4 separate regions of the Homo sapiens genome follow, and regions 2, 3 and 4 are each linked to region 1. The links are contacts of gene promoters, found by promoter capture Hi-C in blood cells and fetal thymus (Javierre and others, 2016). All regions are on one chromosome and are shown on one strand. The core of a region is centred on a gene start or on the middle of the fragment in contact, and the rest is flanking DNA. Distances in the headings are between cores, read along the strand shown.

What was found. The method cuts DNA at HindIII sites, captures the fragments that hold promoters and counts their contacts. A CHiCAGO score of 5 or more calls a contact.
Region 2: a fragment that was not itself captured here is called in contact with the fragment with the promoter of PPP6C in region 1 in 3 of 17 cell types (M1 macrophages, endothelial precursors and megakaryocytes); the score reaches 7.6 in M1 macrophages.
Region 3: a fragment that was not itself captured here is called in contact with the fragment with the promoter of PPP6C in region 1 in 2 of 17 cell types (naive CD8 T cells and total CD8 T cells); the score reaches 6.0 in naive CD8 T cells.
Region 4: a contact is called between the fragment with the promoter of WDR38 here and the fragment with the promoter of PPP6C in region 1, in 1 of 17 cell types (endothelial precursors). The highest score is 6.5, in endothelial precursors.

Annotation. Positions count from the first base shown.
Region 1 is chr9:125,188,508-125,191,207 of GRCh38, reverse strand. It overlaps PPP6C (protein phosphatase 6 catalytic subunit), which reads left to right and starts at 1,405. Exons shown (of 7, transcript NM_002721.5): 1 at 1,405-1,564. The coding sequence starts at 1,490. RefSeq lists enhancers at 1,128-1,207, 510-1,296, 1,297-2,083. The HindIII fragment of the contact is 2,825 bases long and covers 755-2,700 here.
Region 2 is chr9:124,912,456-124,915,269 of GRCh38, reverse strand. The region is part of intron 10 of GOLGA1 (golgin A1); the gene reads left to right. Among named protein-coding and RNA genes, the nearest start is that of GOLGA1, 27 kb to the left of the region's middle. The HindIII fragment of the contact is 1,391 bases long and covers 561-1,951 here.
Region 3 is chr9:124,760,023-124,762,918 of GRCh38, reverse strand. The region is part of intron 1 of NR6A1 (nuclear receptor subfamily 6 group A member 1); the gene reads left to right. LOC124900274 (a long non-coding RNA gene) reads left to right here. Exons shown (of 2, transcript XR_007061773.1): 1 at 1-2,896. Among named protein-coding and RNA genes, the nearest start is that of NR6A1, 9.8 kb to the left of the region's middle. RefSeq lists enhancers at 1,283-1,837, 1,838-2,393. The HindIII fragment of the contact is 564 bases long and covers 1,007-1,570 here.
Region 4 is chr9:124,852,127-124,854,977 of GRCh38, reverse strand. WDR38 (WD repeat domain 38) reads right to left here and starts at 1,518. Exons shown (of 9, transcript NM_001045476.3): 1 at 1,378-1,518; 2 at 653-773. The coding sequence starts at 1,446. RefSeq lists a silencer at 1,417-1,466. The HindIII fragment of the contact is 17,878 bases long and covers 1-2,251 here.

The DNA.
Region 1 (2,700 bases), core at 156-2,655:
GCCACCGCGGCCTGGCCAATAGGCACTATGTAACTATTAGTTTAATGAATGAAGAAATGAATGCTTGTGGGCATCATTCATTCTGCAACAAACTTCTAAAAATTAATTTTACTTTGAAACAATTTCATACTTTCAGAGGAGTTACAAGAATAATACAAAGAAGTTCACCCAGATATCTCATTCAGGGTTAGCCAATTGTCCACAAAATATACTTTAGAGAGCAAGAGGATTAATTCCAGGGTCTCTTGAGCAACAAATATTTATTGAGCGCCTGCTACTATTGGATTACATAACAGTCTCTTAACTGGTCTCTTAGCTATAGGCATTGCACCCCCACCCCTAGTCCCATACAGCAGCTCCTTTTACTAATTTATTTTTGAGGAGGATCTCGCTCTGTCGCCCAAGCTGGAGTGCAGTGCCGCGATCTCAGCTCACTGCAACCTCCGCCTCCCAACTCAAGCGGTTCTCCTGCCTCAGCCTCCAGAGTAGCTGGGACCACAAGCACGCACTACCGCGCCAGGCTAATTTTGGTACTTTTTGTAGCTACAGATAGAATAGAGATCTTTGTCTATTTTGTTCACGAAGTACTGCAAGCGCCTTGAGCTGTACCTGGCACATCTTTGTTGCTCAGCAAAGAGTGGTTGGATAAACGAACGCTGAAGGTATGCTAGTACCAGGTACTGTTCTCGGTGCTGGAGTTACAGCAAAAAACTCCCTGCCCTCGTGGGATTCTCACTGGAAGCATGCTTAAGCTTAAGCCATTTTTCAATCTTGACCCCACCATTTTGTTCCCTGTGAGATTTGGGGTGAACTGCAGTTTCCTAGCCTCACTTTCCTATCAATCGTTACGAAGATTAAAAGGAAAAATATCATTTGTATCGCATTTAGCATCAGAAATGCTTTAATAATATTCGTTTCCCTTCCTTTCAGGCTGGAAGACTGGGGCCTGACATCTCTGCCACAGGCTTAGGCGAGGTTTTCACAGGGACTTGGAAAGGTGCAAACGGTTACTACGGCCAGGCTTACCCAATTGTTAAGTGAAGATATTCTGGAGAGTGCTTAAAAGGGTTGGAAAAACAAACCAGTGAGTGGCTAGGACCACCTACTCCGCTGTTTTGCCTCGGAAAAGCCTCGCCGGCTGCCGGGAGGTGAAAGTCTGGAGGAACGGGAGGAAAAGAGAGGGGTGGCTGTCCACAACAGAAAACTACACATCCCAGCACCCCCGCGGCAGACGACTACGGGTCCCAGCAGGTTTCGCGGGGTGGACCGAAGCGGGCTCTCTTGGGGCCTGCAGTCGGGGTTCAGCCAGAGGGGGCGCCGGGCGTACCGACGTAGCGGGGAGAAACGGGTCGCGCTTTAACGGCGCTGCGCAGGCGCCACTCACGGGCCGGACGTGACGCAGGGAAAGTTCCGGCTTCGGCCTCCGCCGCTGCCGCCGCCGCTGCTACAGCCGCCGCCGCCGCTGTTGCCGCGGCTTGTTATTCTTAAAATGGCGCCGCTAGACCTGGACAAGTATGTGGAAATAGCGCGGCTGTGCAAGTACCTGCCAGAGAACGACCTGAAGGTGAGCCCTATTTGCGGGCTCGCCCCTTCCGGCTGTGGGGCGCCCGCCGGCCGGCCCTTCCTTTCTCCAGGACCCCCGCCGGGTATCCAGTCCAGTCGCGGTGGAGGGCCTCCCCCATTGCCAGTCGACCCGGTCCTACCCGGCGTCACGCCGAGGGTCTCGCGAGCCGAGTCGTCGAATGCTGTCCCGGTTGCCTCAGTGGGGATCCCGAGGGATGTCGCGGCCTCTGTCCCAGGGTCGCCCCTTCTGGCCTTCGGGCTGCCCCAGGACCCGCAGCTGTAACAGCTTTATTTAGAAGGCTCGGCTCCCCACCCCATCCCTGGGTCTCCCGCAGTCGGAGCCGAGCCCCCGCGGCAGTGCCCTCGGGATGGGGTCGCCTCCACCGGAGGTGACAGGAGCGCGGAGTGGCCGGCGTCTGACAGGAGATGCCACCGGCTACCGGAACGCGGCCTCAGTGTGTTTAGGTCTCTGAGGAAGGGGAAGGCGGTGGGCCCGAGTGGTTTGGTACTGGCGGGAGCGAACGTCAGGTCGTCCCTCTTCATTGCCACTCCTCCAAATTGCTTTTTAGGATCGTCGGTTTTGCTAATTCAGAGGTGAATCCCGTTTCTGAGTATGTTGTTGAGCTTACTGAAGTGGATAAAGTAGTTGGTTCTCAATAAATACAAATACTTTCTCCTTAACCCCTTCTTAACTCAGTATTTCATTTTCTTCGTTTTCTAAAGGAGGTGAGTTCCTTGTTACTCCTGAGTCCAAGTAAGAGTAAATGTATGTATGGGTAAAGGAATGACTTTGGTATACTGCTTTTCTTTTTTAAAACTTTTTAATTATTATTATTATTATTATTATTATTGTTTTTAACTGAGATAGAGTCTCACTCTGTCACCCAGGCTGGAGTGCAGCGGTGCGATCTTGGCTCACTGCAACCTCCACTTCCCGGGTTCAAGCGATTCTCCTGCCTCAGCCTCCCGACTAGGTGGAATTACAGGCGCCCGTCACGACGCCCGGCTGTTTTGTATTTTTAGTAGAGACGGGGTTTCGCCATGTTGGCCAGGCTGGTCTTGAACTCCTGACCTCAAGTGATCCGCCCGCTTCGGCCTACCAAAGTGCTGGTATTACAGGCGTGAGCCACCGCGCCG
Region 2 (2,814 bases), core at 7-2,506, 280 kb after region 1:
GTGATAGTAATGGGCATCTGACATCAAAGGCTAAATGATTTGTCAAGACCGTACAGCTGGAGTCAATGACAGAGCCAGGATTCAGACTCATGTCTGTCTGAATCAAGTGACCACCACCCAGAATTGATGCAGTCCATATTCTGGGACTATAACTGTGAGACCCAGACTCGGGAGGGAGTAGGTGAAGAGGGTGATCATTAGGAAAGGGGCAGGTTTGATGTCAGGGAGTATGGCTTGGTAACTGTTCCCGTAGTCCACATGAGGTGTAGAGGGCCTGAAGTAAATCAGCCAGCCTGGAGAAGGAGATCGCATATCAATATGTTGCACAAGAGGCATAAGTGGAACTTGGCCACTGATTCTTTTTCTGTCCCTAACTTTGCCTAACACAGTGACCTGTGTAAGATGTGTTGTTTTGGTTTTAACTGGAATGGGTCATCTATACCTCTTGAATTCAGATTGATGTGTAGGGGAACAAATGCAGACTTTGGATCCAGAAGACCTGGATTTAAATTCTTCATCTATCGCTAATAGGTATATGCCTTTGGGCTAGTCCCTAAGCTTCAGTTTCCTTGTAAATGGATGTGATAAAGAGCATTTGTAAGGACTAGACATAATAGGAAGTGCTTGCAGCGTTCCCTTGACCCTATATGTCTGTCTTTACGCTATTACCACACTGTCTTGGTCATTGTCACTTTAGAGTTGAAATCAGGTAATGTTCTCCAACTCTTACATCAACAGTTACTCTTTTTCTTTCCTTTTTTTTTTTCTTTGAGACGGAGTGTCGCTCCTCGCTCAGGCTGGAGTGCAGTGGCGCGATCTTGGCTCACTGCAAGCTCCGCCTCCCAGGTTCACGCCGTTCTCCCGCCTCAGCCTCCTGAGTAGCTGGGACTACAGGCGCCTGCCACCACGTCCGGCTAATTTTGTTTTTGTATTTTTAGTAGAGATGGGGTTTCACCGTGTTAGCCAGGATGGTCTCGATCTCCTGACCTCGTGATCTGCCCACCTCAGCTTCCCAAAGTGCTGGGATTACAGGCGTGAGCCACCACGCCCAGCCTACAGTTATTCTTTTTCAAGATTGCTGCAGCAATCTTGTTATAGCTGCTTCTGCTATATTACAGTTATAACTATTGCTAGTATTAACATTAGTAATAAGAGACCCATAAAGATGGGTCAACATGGCCAAAACTGGCTTTTTTTTTCCTATCACACTCACTCACTTTCCTGTGTTATCCACCTTGCATAATGTTACCATTTGCCCAGGTGTCTGAGCCACAGACCTGAGAGTTGTGTTCAGCTGTTCTTTCCTCCTCACCCAGCCTCTAGCCTTGCAGGACTTGTCTGTTACCTCTTTGTATGTGCTGCCCTTTATGCAGAATGATTGTTCCTCTTCCACCCTCTTTCACCTGGACTTGCCCATTCAGGAGGCCTGATCTGATTCTCCCAGTTAATCCCTCTTGCATCTCATATCTCATAGCACGGTGTGTGTCCCTCTGTTGAAGCACAGTTGTTTTGTAATTAGGTGTGTGTCTGTCTCCACCACCAGCCTCCATGCTGGAATTAATGTTGATTGTATCCTCAGAAAACAACAGATAGAGTTCAGGCTTGATGAAAGTTTATTGAATTGTGGGGTCATAAATCTAGTCTTCAGACTTCCCCTCCACTATCTCTGTTGTCCACCTGTGAGAATTCAGAATGGCAAATACTTCTTCCCAAAACCATACACCCTGGTTGCTGCATCTTATCCTGAGGAGAGATCGGCCAAGTTACAACTGAACATGAAAGTTTATGGCTTGAAATGGAGCAACGGAAGTGTAAGATAAGGGAATTTGAGGGAACAGAGTACATGTAAAGAGGTACAAGTCTTCACAGTGAGATTTTGTTGCCCTACAACCTTTTCTGGGGAAGAATGGGCATCCTCAGTGGGGATGTAAGAACTCATGTATTCAAAGCTTCCTGGATCCTCTGCTTTGACATTGAGCAGTGATATGGTTAGGCTCCGTGTCTCATCTCAAATTGTAATGCCCACATGTCAAGGGAGGGACCTGGTGGGAGGTGATCGGATCATGGAGGCAGATTTCTCCTTTGCTGTTCTTGTGATAGTGAGTGAGTTCTCATGAGAGCTGATGGTTTTACAGTATGGCACTTCCCCCCTCGCTCGCTTGCTCTATCCTGCCACCGTGTAAGATGTACCTTGCTTCCCCTTCTCCTTCTGCCATGCTTGTAAGTTTCCTGAGGCCTCCCAGCCATGTGGAACTGTGAGTCAATTAAATCTCTTTCCTTTATAAATTACTCAGTCTCAGGTATTCTTTATAGCAGTGTGAGAATGGACTAATACAAGCAGCAGTTGAAGATTAGTAGCAGTAAAAGGAACCAAGTTAGTCCCAACCTGTTGCTACCACCACTACCATCATAGCTAAAGAGATAGACTGGCCAGGCACAGTGGCTTACGCCTGTAATCCTAGCACTTTGGGAGGCCGAGGCTAGTGGATCATGAGGACAGGAGATTGAGACCATCCTGGCCAATATGGTGAAACCCCGTCTCTACTAAAAATACAAAAAATTAGCCGGGTGTGGTGGTGGGCGCCTGTAGTCCCAGCTACTCGGGAGGCTGAGGCAGGAGAATGGCGTAAACCCAGGAGGTGGATGTTGCAGTGAGCCGAGATCGCGCCACTGTACTCCAGCCAAGGCAACAGAGCGACACTCCGTCTCAAAAAACCAAAAATAATAGATTGAAATAAAACGGGCAGCTGTTGGTCTAAAGCCAAGGTATGAGAAGCATGGCAGCTCTGCTGTGGTCCCTGTCCTGTGAGCCAG
Region 3 (2,896 bases), core at 39-2,538, 430 kb after region 1:
GCTTTCAAGCAACAATTAGTTTTGGAAAACTTGTACTTGCCACTAAGAGCTTGACAGCTTCCCAATGATTAATGTCTTCTGATGAGATGGATGATGAAATAAATATGATTTTCGATGTTATGAAATGTGTCAACATTTTGAAAATCTGAATATCTCAGTAATTCAGTATTTTCCAAAAGATCTATGTGTGATATTACAGGATCCTACACAGCTAAGAGATCTGTTCAAAATGCCAGATTGATCAATGGATTTTAATGTAACGGATTACACATAGTTCATTGATATGGTTTTAAACTCACACTGAACTAACCTTTAAGAAAGTACCACTTAATTGAGTTTTGGTGTAGTATCAAAGAAGACTATCCACAATTACTTTAAAAAGCAAATACTTCTTCCTTTTCCGATTATAAATCTGTGGGGCCAGATTTTCTGCCTGTGCTTCAACAACAACAAAAAATCACAATATACTGAATGGGTAAACAGATAGGAGATCTAGCTGCTAGGATTAAGCCAGATATTAAGGAGATTAGCAAAATGTAAAACAATGCCACTCTTCTAATTTTTATGTTTTATTGGACAATTTTATTTTTCATAAAAATGTTATTTGTACTAACGTGAATTTATTAAATTTAAATGGATTATCAAATATTTTAAATTTTTCATAGGTTTATTTTCCAGTATGATAAATATCAATAGACAAAGCCACATAAATATCAACCCTTTAGGGTCCTTCATAATTTTTAAGAGTGTAAAAGGGATCCTGAAGAACACTCAGGCATAAATATATGAGAACTCCAGGTCTAAATGAACTAACGAAATGTGTAAAGAAGATGGTGACTTCACCAGATACCATTAGTAGTACTTTTTTTACTTTGGAGTTTTCTTACTTCCCTCGATAATTGAGCTACTTTTATTGAAAATGAGTTCATATCATTTTAAGTTTTCTTTGCTTGGGAATACATGAAATGTGTGGTAGTGCACTCTCACTGAGTTCTCTGATAAAGCTTTTGTTACCTGCTACATGAAACCTGTTGCTTAACTGATAATTGTCTTGTGGCAGCAGTTTTTCAAGAGAACCAGTTGCCTCACCAAGGGTAGACTTACATTTGTGGAAATAAATCTGACAACAGAATTTCTTAAGAGTCATTGCTATAGAATAATGAACAATTTATAAGAGATAAAGATCCTATCGTGCTTTTTAAAACTTCCATCAAGAATAGTTTGCTTATTTGCTTTCCTTAGACATGTTTGGCTTCACTGAGTCTTAGAGTTGTGATTTCGGTAATGCAGTTTTGTAAATTGGTTTGCTTTTAACCTGGTTTTCACTGAGATGGTAATAAAGTCTGTATAGGAGAGGCATCTCTTCCTCTGGTCGAAGAATATCCTTTCCTAGTGTGAGTAACATTTTAGTGTAAGTCAATTACTGTGTTGTTAAAGAGTTAGAAATTTACTCCTTAGGGTAGTTACTAGGTAGAACTCATCCTGTAGTGGGCTTGCTGGCTGAAGAAATGTCACATAACAATGTGAATAACAAATAAGGAGTTACCGCATCAGAACTCAAGGTGAAGCTTGGATAGGTGTTGAAAGATCAGTGAGATAATTATTTGGGCTTCCTTCCTAAGAGCTCTAATTATCTTGATATTCTTGGAGTTTCATGTAATGTACCTTTGAAAACATTTTTGTGTTTTGTGGGGATTGCAGCTTAGTTATAAGAAAATACAAGCCTTTCTTTTATTTCTTAATGTTTGGATTTGAAGATTCATGTGAAATCTTCAATTGCATTCTTCAGTTGAGTTAAATTGCTTTAATTACGAAACCTAATAACTGAGACAGATTTGGCTTTTTTCTTCCATATTCTTTCTGTACCCTTGAAGTCTAACCTGTCAGGAGACTTCCTCTCTCTATTCTTGGAATCCTTCCCCCAAGATGCCTTTTTAGCAGGATAATAAACCACCTGGGGGAAGCCCCCCATTGACATGCATTTAGAGGGCTTTGTTTTTTGGAAATGGCAATAGTAGTCCCATCCAGGGAGGAAGGATTTTGGTTAGATGGTGTGAGGCAAAGAGCAGGGACTCTGGAGTGTGGCCTAACAAAGATCACAGCTATGCGACTTTGTCACTTGACTTCTCTGAACTTTAGTGTTCTCATTTAACATTAATAGCTAACATTTACATAGTGTTTATAATCTAAACACCTTATGTATATTTATCGTCTTAACTCTGAGGTAGGTGTTCTGTTATCCCCATCTTACAGGAGAAAACTGAGACCCACAGAGTTTAAACCTCCAGATTTCGCAGCTAGTAACAGCATTAATAATTTGTTTCATAGATTTAACATCCCCTCTTCTCCAATATACTCTGACATTTCTGAAATTGACTGTAGGGTTATAAGGATTAGAGACAAGGTCTGTAAATTGCCAAGCATAGTATCTGCCTAAAAGCAAAAACCTGAGAATCTGGGGCATTTATCTATGTTGGAGAGGCCCAGAATTCAACTTTTATTGATTAGAGAGCCAAAAAGACCCACTCTTAGAATTGCAAGTGACTTTTTTCTTTTCTCTCATGCTGGCTTTTATTTTATTTTTATTTTTATTTATTTATTTTTTTTTAGTTGGAGTCTCACTCTGTCTCCCAGGCTGGAGTGCAGTGGCGAGATCTTGGCTCACTGCAGCCTCCGCCTCCCTGGTTTAAGTGATTCTCCTGCTTCAGCCCCTGGAGCAGCTGGGATTACAGGTGCCCGCCACCATGCCTGACTAATTTTTGTGTTTTTAGTAGAGACGAGATTTCACCATGTTGGCCAGGCTGGTCTCGAACTTGTGATCTCAGGTGATCTGCCTGCCTCGGCATCCCACCTCATGGTGGTTGTTTTTTTTTTTTTTTGAGATGGAGTCTAGCTC
Region 4 (2,851 bases), core at 269-2,768, 340 kb after region 1:
GTTTAGTGGGGACAGAGGTTCAGTTCTGCAAGAGGAAGAGCTCTGGAGATTGGTGTCACGACAATGTGAAGGTACTGGATTCTCTGAACTGTACACTTAAAAATGGACACAACAAAGCCGGTGCAGTGGCTCACGCCTTTAATCCCAGCACTTTGGGAGGCCGAGGTGGGTGGATCACGAGGTCAGGAGTTCAAGACCAGCCTGGCCAAGATGGTGAAACCCCGTCTCTACTAAAGATACAAAAAAATTAGCTGGGTGTGGTAGCAGGTGTCTATAATTCCAGCTACTCGAGAGGCTGAGGCAGAGAATTGCTTGAACCCAGGAGGCGGGGGTTGCAGTGAGCCGAGGTTGTCCAGCCTGGGTGACAGAGAGCGACTCTGTCACACACAAAAAAGGATGCAACAGTAAGTATTACTGTGTTACATTACAGTTGTTTTTGTATGTATGTGTGTGTGTGTGTGTGTTTTTAAAGAAGGCTGAGTCCAGGCCTGTTAGAGTCTAAGCCCCAGCACCCAGATATCTCGTCCCATCTCCCAACCTGCCCAGCCCTGCCTTGCACCCGTGCCCAGCTCATCGGAGGTCACTGCAGTCAGCTCTGCAGCATGCCAGACCCTTGTGCCTCGGTCTTCCCGGCCAGGTGTGGGAGCCCCACCTGTGTGGCCACCCAGCCTCCACAGCAGCTGCCCACTCCGGGTCTCCCAGCCATACACGCAGCCATCTTCTGAGCCTGTGAGCAGCATCTGGCCATCAGGGGAGAAGGCAGAAGAGTTGACCTAGAAACAGCACAAAAGCGGTCCCATTCTGGGGAAGAAACCCCTGTCCGCTCATCTCTGACCCCTAAACACTGCCCCCCAAGAGCCTGGGGTTGGAGCTTGACTTCAAGCCTCACTCCACCACCAGAGCCCAGAACCCGGGACCCACTGGGCCCTCTCTCGAGTCCCGTAAAGCCAGAGCCTGCAGTTGGAGGCAAGAGCCTTCTCTGGAACCAGAGCCTGGAACCCCAGAGCTAAGAGCCCATTCCAGAGCCGCAGCTGACAACGGAGAGTCCAGAATCTACTCTAAGTTCTGAGTTCACTTTAGAGCCAGGGCCCCAGAAAACACCAGAGTCAGCAGGGAGCTTTGTGCCCCTCTCGAGGCAGAGCCCAGAGCCCGGGGCTCTTTTTACAGGCAGAGCTTAGAACCTAGAGCTGCTCTGGAGCTGGGGCCCGGCACTGGAGCTGAGAACCTACTTCGATCCTTCTTGGGTTAGCAAAGTCTACTCTGGACTCAATGTCCTGAGCCACTGCCCAGAGAACATTCTGGAACCCCCACTACACAGAACCAGGAACCACTCTGCATCCAAAGCCGGGAGTCTGGGCAGAGCCCGCTGGACCTCACCTCCCCGCCGTGCTGGCCGAAGAATTTCACTCTCCGCACGGCCAGCGTGGCCGGGACCCCGCTGTTCATGGGCACCCGGCCCCGCCCCGCCCCGGCGGGCTCCCTCCTAGGCGGCCGCGGGACCCCAGGACTGGGCAGAGGAAAGAGGAAACTGTGTACAGGCGGTCTCCATGGTAATCGGGGCGGGGCGTGCGGCCATGGTGGGGTCCCTGCGAAGCCACGAGGACTGACAGGCAGGCCAGACCGCTTGCAGTTCGGCGGAGGTGGAGCCGCAGCAGGCGGGACCGCGGCGGGCTGGGAGAAGGGACTTCCCGCGCCAGCGGCTGCGCGTCCACTCTAGGGCAGCTCTCGCGCGGGGCAACACGGCAGGCAGAGCGGCCACTAGAGGGCGCGCCAGCCACACGCACCGCGCGGCCCAGAGCCCGGCCCCGCGCCCTGCGGACTGCGAACTGCAAGGGGTCCCTGCACCTCTTTGATACAGGGGAGCAACGAGCCTGTCTCCCCATCTGCACAACCGGGAGCATCAGCCCTGCCCCACAGGACTCCAGGGGTGAGCCAAGCACAGGGCCTGGCACACGGTAGATGCCCAAGAGGGCCCCCTCAGGAGCCAATACCCCTTCCGTCCAGGAGTGGCCAGTACTGAGGTTAAGGATGTCCCAGGAGAGCGCTGGGGACAGTAGCCAGCTCTGTCCTCCAGGGCGTGGAAGCCAGAGGTAGTGTGTGTAAAGTACATGGCATTAAAAGTGGGGTCACGTTGCTGTTAACATTCCTGGCAGCACAAAATGTGCCATCTGAGGATGGGGTGGAGGCTGGGGCTGGGGGGCAGTTGCCCAGGAGCTGCCAGGATCCTTACCGGATAGCGCAATCTGAAGCTTGGAACGAGCAGGACTTGGTTTCATTGTTAATTTACAGGTGAAGAAACTCACCCGGAGAGCTGGGAGGACTTGCTCAGAGCCACTCAGCCAGTAGGAGTGGAACTGGGATTTCAGCCCATGGCTGTCTGACTCTGGGTGTCTGTACTGGGACCACCTGCCATGAACTCCAGGGACCTCTCAGCAGATGTTGAGGTCCGCAACTCCTGGTACATCTGGGAAACTGAGGTCCGAAGGGGGCAGGACTTGGCCCAGCCATCTAGCCGGTGCTTCCATGGCAGAGCTGGGGCAGGACCCAGTCTCCCCACTCCCACAGCAGGACAGGGAGGGAACAGAGGACCCCCCACCTGCCCCGCCCATGGATTCTAGGCTCCCTGGGGGCAGGGGTGGAGCAGCTGGGCTTTGGGAGCTTCAAACTCAAGAGTTCCCAGCGGCGACTCACACCCTCCCCCCCTAAACCTCTTTGCCAGAAACTTCTCAGGAGATCCGCTGTGCTCCTGCTATTTTAAGTCCCAGACAGTCAGGCGGGTGAGGGAGCGACAATGACAGCTTTGAGGCAGTCCCACTCCATCCCAGATCCCAGAGGGCCTAGGTCACTGTGG